Linked DNA regions of Homo sapiens: region 2 is linked to region 1. The links are contacts of gene promoters, found by promoter capture Hi-C in human tissues and cell types (Jung and others, 2019). All regions are on one chromosome and are shown on one strand. Each heading gives the region's core, a stretch centred on a gene start or on the middle of the fragment in contact. The rest is flanking DNA. Distances are from core to core; before and after follow the strand shown.

Region 1 (3,163 bases), core at 664-3,163:
TCCGTCTCAAAAAAAAAAAAAAAAAAAAAAGAGTATAGTAAGAATAAGAAACACCACTCTTGGCCTCAGTTTGCCCATCTGAAAAATGTGTGCACTAACAGTAGCTACCTCTTTGGGTTACTGTGAGAGAAGTAAAGGTGTTAAACCATCCAAAGTACCCGGCTCATACTAAGTGCTCAATACATGTTCCTGGTGTCATGACTGTGTACTGGAGGCATGCCAGACCCGGCCTGTACCCCACCTTCAGCGCACGGGTTGTGCAGGAGGTTCCTGTGCAGGCTCCGTAAGAAGTAGAAGATCTTCCAGTCGGCCACGGGCTGGTCCCAGTCCTCAGTGATGAAGCCCTCTCGCAGGCACTTGCGTTTCCAGAGGGTCACGAGGTCGATGAGGTCCCGCCAGAGGCTGCAGACCAGGCGGCAGTTCAGCAGCAGCTGGCGGGCGGGCACGTGCGTGAACAGCTCCAGCAGGATGTTCTCGGGCAGCTCGTTGATGTTCCCCACAGCCATGGCTTGTGGCTTCTGGACACCCTCCTGTAGCTGTTGAAAAGCTATGCTGCAGGCCTCATCCCTGCTCTGCCATTTATCTCGGGAGAGCATGGTGCCTCTCCCAGCCTGTTTCCTTCTCTGTAAATGGATGCCTTACCTCCAGGGGTCACTGGGGCGGTCCAAGGAGCTTGGGACACATCAGGTACTTTAATAAAAGGTGAGCTCTGATTTTTTTCTCTGGCCTCTCACAATAGAGGTGGAAGGCACTGCCCAAGGTCAAAAATAAGGGCAGAGGGGGAAGAAGCCCGGATCTTCTTTGATTCCAGGGCCAGCCTTTTTCAGTAGGCCAGTCTTTAATGGGGATATAATGCGCAGCCGGGCAGAGCACCCCAGGCCTCCGGTGCCGTCACCATCCTCTCTCCCATCCTCAGAACATGATGGGAGGAGGAGGCTAATTATCACTGCCTCCCGCGGAGGTCCAAAGGGCTCCAGCCACCTTCTCAAGATCTCAGAGGACATGATCTCCTGCCTAGGTGGGAGTGGCAAGAGGGTGGGCGACAGGGAAGGGCCCTTCCTATCTCCCCACCCCCACTCCCACCCCCAGCCCCGCGGCTGGGCTCCGCCAGCCCCAAGTCCGCCAGCGCGCCTGCAGCCTCCCCTTCCCACGCTGTGCCTTAAAATGCCCCCCAAAGTCTGGGCTCGGACCCCTGTACATCGATGGCGACCCCAGCCCCCGTTCGCAGCCGCGCAGCGCAGCCCGGGCAAGCTCGGCGGCCTGGGCCTGGTCGGTGCCAGGCCTCCCTCGGCAACTGCGGCGCGACCCGGAACCCAGGAGCCTTCCCGGCAGCCCCCGCCCAGCCGCGCCCCCTCCCCAGCGCCCCCCGCGCCCCCTCCTGCCGGTCACCTGCGCTCGGCCGCCGCGGCACGATCCGTTGGGCCGCCCAAGCTGCACCGCCTGGACCTGCGCTTGCCTGGAAAGCGAGGCCCCGCCCCGGCCCGCCAGGCCCCGCCCCCGCGCCCCGCGCCCCGCCCCGCGCAGCGCTGGGCCAGGGACGCACCCCCACCGCGTCGTAGGAAAATTACCTGGTGTGGGGGGTGGGGCGGAAGGCACCTCCTATACTCCGACTCCGCCTGGGCCACCCGCCCCTCACCCTCGGCCTGACCCAGCCTCTCCGTGCCTCCCCTAGCCGCCTCCTCCCAGCAGTCCCCCAGGAGCGAGCTGCGAGATGCCCCAAATCGGACCCCTCCCCAGTTGGAAAAAAAACGACTCCTGACCTTTCCCAGCCTCCTCGGTCCGCTGAGGAACCCGCAGCCCCGGGCCTCGAGCAGACTGCTGGGACTGCGGGGCGGCCGGGCGCGGGGCCAGAGGCGGGGCGGGGCGGGTCGGGTCGGGGGCCTTTAAGAGGCGCGGTCGCCGGGACCGACACAGACGCGGACAGCGCCGGGACTCGCCGCCCCGGGACTCGCGCAGCCCGCAGCGCTCCGGCTCCTCCTCTCGCGACCGCCCTCCGCAGCGATGGACGGAGACGGTGACCCAGGTAGCCGACGCCTGGACCGCTCGCTGCGGCGGGGAGGGGAGATGGGGTCGGCGGGCGAGCGCTGCACAGAGGGGCGTCAGAGAGCGAGGGGACCCGGAGACCTGGCGCGGCAAACTTTCACGCCAGCGAAGCCCTAGAGGCGGTCTCCAAAGAGCACGTCTCTCTGCTATCTTGGTCTGGCGGGAGGCCTTGAGAGGCGACTGGCAAGGAGAGAGAACTCCTGGGTCCCATTTAGCCAGGAAGTAGCACCAGAGGACCCCCACATTCCCGCCTCCCAGCTTCCTGAGGGTCTGTCTGGCGGGGGCCTGGGATGCGTCTGGGAGGGAGGCTGCGAGCCTTTTCTTTCATCAGCTCTTCCAGCTCTGGGCCTTGGGCCGTCTGAATCCCCGTGGGTTCCTTGGGGTCCCAGGCCTGGCCTCACCTATTCCTGCCTTCCTCCTGAGCTCCCTTGTCTGGAGGGGCTGCCCCTCCCCGGGGTGGTGAGATGCCCAGTGGGGACCCGACTAGCGGTGAGGGAGCGTTGGGGGCAGCTTTGGCTGGTGCTCAGGGCCTTCCCAGGCTGCCCAGTCATCCTCTCTGGCACCCAAGACCCCTCACCCCCATCCCTCCAACTCCCTGCGGGGCCTGCAGGGGTTGCCTGCTGAGTCAGGATGGAAACAAGACCTGCCTGCAGACAGCCCTCACTCTTTCCTCATCAGGTCCAGCTGGGGATGGGCATTGCTTGGGTTAGGCGGTGGCAAACAGACTGATGAAAGCTCAGGCCCCCCCTCACCCCCCATTCCCCCGCCTCCAGCCCTGAAAATTCCAGCTCTCGCAGCCCTTGCTCCCAATCCACGGCCTTCTGGCCACACCCTCTGTAGGGCTCCAGAACTGGCTCCTGCTTTTTCCCAGGGATCAGCTATACCCTGGACTCTGGGGCCCACTCCAGGTGAGTGAGTCAGCCTCGCAGGCAGGCAGCTTCCAGGGGCCAGATAACTTTCCGCCGGCAACAATGTGGGGAGTTGTGTGTGTAAGAGAGAGGGTGGGGGGAGCTGTAATTGGATCTGGGGCCTCGAGTGCCAGGCCCCGGGGCCAGAAGAGGGGACTGGGTGAGGTGCACCTTTCGGGGAGCATCAGGTGTCCGATGGGGCCAGGGCCGGA
Region 2 (3,190 bases), core at 613-3,112, 160 kb after region 1:
GAACTCCTGACAAGCGATCTGCCCGCCTTGGCCTCCCAAAGTGTTGAGATTACAGGTGTGAGCCGCCACACCCAGTTGGGAGAGCCATTTTTGAAGTTGAAGAGAAAAGCCAATCTTCAAGTCACAGGCCAGATGGACTTCCCCATTTGGACAGAATGGGGCTTTGGTGGGAGGTGGTGTTGCCTCAAAAACACCCCCAGGCCCCTGCCAGGCCTCACTCCTCTCCAGAGCAGATGGGGCTCCCAGGGATGTGAACCCATGCCAGAGCCTCCCTGTGGTCCTGTTTATAACTTCCCTCCTCTGGCAAAGGATGACAGAACCCTTCCTTCTCCACTCCCCCATACCAGCCAGACTATTAAAATGTAATAAAAAAATCACATTAGACATGGAGATTTGACTTAAACTACGTATATGTATATACAATTTAACGGCAATTAGGAGCTAATCAGCTTTTTCTTCCTGGCTCAGGATGTTTTGCCTTCCCTGGTTCAGCTCTGGTCCTTGAACATCTTGAGGTCTTTGATTCTCTTACCCTTGGGTCGAGAGTTTTGGGCAGAAGCTCAAAATGAGTTATTTTGAGTTGAACAGCTCCAGAGAAGGGAGGAAAGAAAAGAGGAGGCCTTGGTGCCTCCCAGGCATCACTGTCCTACGTCCTGATACTCCGTCTTCTGAGAATCCACCGCTCTCCGGATGTCCTGGCTATGTGCCAGTCATCAGAATCCCAAACCTTTCCCCGAGACCTGGACACTCCACCTAGGCCAGGAGGCTGGAGAGGCACTGGAGATGTGGTGGTGAAACGGGCAAAATCACACACATGGAGTGCAGTCAAAAGCCCAGCTAGTTCAGCCCAGCTAGTTCAATGCAGAAACTCTGACACCCATTAAGACCATCATAATAATTAACTCTGCATCTACCACGTGCCAGTACTCCTTATCCATCCTCTGTCATCCTCACATCAGCCCTGCAAGGACGCTAGGGAAGGCATTATGAGCATTCACTTTTTACAGAAGCAAAATCAGAATCAGAGAGGTTAAGTGACTCCCTGGTGGTCACACAGCTACTAAGGGGCAGAACTGGAGTTTGAACCCCAGGTCTATTGATCCTAAAGCCCAGGCTCTTTTGGCCATACCAGGTAGCCTATGAGCTCTTTGAGAGCTGATATGTCAGTACTTGTTGAAGAAACCCATTGCCTTTTAGCAAGTTTGCCCCATCCCCATAAGACCACAGATCACTCGGGGCCTGGCAATTCTGCTTTCAGCAGGTGGCAACTCAGGGCATGATGTAAAGGAAGTCTCCCACCAACCTCAGAAGCTTGGCTTTCCCTTCAATGGGTCATGGGTGTGATGGTTAATTCTATGTGTCAACTTGACTGGACTATGGGGTGCCCAGATATTTGGCCAAACATGATTCTGGGTGTGTGTGTGAGAGAGAGAGTGTGTTTCCAGATAAGATTTTTTTTTTTTTGAGATGGAGTCTTGCTCTGTTGCCCAGGCTTGAGTGTGGTGGCATGATCTCAGCTCACTGCAACCTCCACCTCTGAGGTTCAAATGATTCTCCTGTCTCAGCCTCCCAAGTAGCTGGGATTACAGGTGCATGCCACCATGCCTGGCTAATTTTTGTATTTTTAGTAGAGACGGGGTTTCGCCATGTTGGCCAGGCTGGTCTTGAACTCCTACCTCAAGTGATCCGCCCACCTCCGCCTCCCAAAGTGCTAGGATTACAGGAGTGAGCCACCAAGCCCAGCCTCCAGATAAGATCAGCATCAGTACACAGAGTAAAGCAGATGGTTCTCACTAATGAGGGTGGGCCTCAACGAATCAGTTGAAGATCTGAATAGAATGAAAAGGCTAAGAGGAAATTGTTTTTGTTGACTGCTAGAGCTTGGACATTGGTCTTTTCTGGCCTTTGGACTCAAGCTGAAATATCAGCTCTTCTTGGGTCTTCAGCCTGCCAGCTATCAGACTAGAACTTACACCATTGGCCCTCCTGGTTCTCAGGCCTTCAGTCTCAAACTGCAACTATACCATCAGCTCTCCTGGGTCTCCAGCTTGCTGCCTGCAGATCTTGGGGCTTCTCAGCCTCCATAATCACATAAGCCAATTCCTTCTAATAAATCTCTCTCTGATATATATATGCTATTGGTTATTTTCTTCTGGAGAACCCTAATACAATGGGGCCGTGAAGCATCCCAGAGAGAAAGTAGGAGTGAAGCAGGGAGCCCCATCCTAGCAGCTGGATCCTAGGGCCCTCCCAGAGTCTTCTCTGAAGATGTTCCAAGTCCTACCTAGAATCTCAAATGAACACGGCAACAGAGCCAGGGAATGCCTTCCAGATCCATAGAGGAAGGGGTATGGCTGAGTGACTTTCCACACTTGTCTGAGCTCTTTCCCCAGCAAGAAGATCCTGAATCTATCACCCCATATCTCCTGCCCCAGCCCCAGGGAAACCTGGCTTTGTGGCTGCAGCTGAAGCAAGCACCTACCTCTACTCCCCATCACCCCTGCTGCCCCCTAAGAAACACGATCTTTGTTGGCTCAATTTGCCAGCCGGAAATTCAGAGGGGGTACAAATGACCATTCCTCTCTGCAAAGAAAATCTGGGCTTATTATTAGAAGCCCAGGTGGGGGTGGGGAGAGGAATCGGGTGGGGGCTCTGTGGCGAGCCTGTCCAAGCCCCCCATTTCTCAGAGAAGGTCAGGCTGCACAGATGGAGTGGATGAAGGATGACTGGCCTCCTGGGGCTGACAGCTGGTGAGGAAACTATGGGCGCTGACTCGAAAAACCCAATGGCTCAATATTTATCAGGCAAACAAGCTTTGCCTGGGTCAATATATCACCTGAGGAAACGTCCCAGCCAACACCAGAGGGATCCAACGTTCATGGGCACAACAGCCACTATCACTTTTCCTGTTCTGGTGTCCCCTCTCTAGTGGGCTCAGTGGGACAGAACCCGACCCCCTAACACCAAGAGGGAAATCTGTAAAATGGGGATGGTGATACTGCTCCCCTGCTGAACCAGAGCAGCTAGTACGATTATTAACTTCTTTTTTTTTTTTTTTTTTTTTTTGAGACGGAGTCTCGCTCTGTCGCCCAGGCTGGAGTGCAGTGGCGGGATCTCGGCTCACTGCAAGCTCCGCCTCCCGGGTTCACGCCATTCTCCTGCCTCAGCCTCCCAAGTAGCTGGGACTACA

What was found. The method cuts DNA at HindIII sites, captures the fragments that hold promoters and counts their contacts. A contact is called where the count stands out against the background at its distance.
Region 2: a contact is called between a fragment that was not itself captured here and the fragment with the promoter of FBXO2 in region 1, in 1 of the 25 tissues and cell types used here (H1 embryonic stem cells).

What each region holds. Positions count from the first base shown.
Region 1 is chr1:11,653,179-11,656,341 of GRCh38, reverse strand. FBXO2 (F-box protein 2) reads left to right here and starts at 1,913. Exons shown (of 6, transcript NM_012168.6): 1 at 1,913-2,023. The coding sequence starts at 2,002. It overlaps FBXO44 (F-box protein 44), which reads right to left and starts at 1,465. Exons shown (of 6, transcript NM_033182.7): 1 at 1,390-1,465; 2 at 242-536. The coding sequence starts at 506. RefSeq lists silencers at 1,234-1,303, 1,354-1,583, 1,824-1,963. The HindIII fragment of the contact is 14,481 bases long and covers 1-3,163 here.
Region 2 is chr1:11,491,998-11,495,187 of GRCh38, reverse strand. All of the region lies in intron 1 of DISP3 (dispatched RND transporter family member 3), which reads right to left. Among named protein-coding and RNA genes, the nearest start is that of DISP3, 14 kb to the right of the region's middle. The HindIII fragment of the contact is 6,238 bases long and covers 1-3,190 here.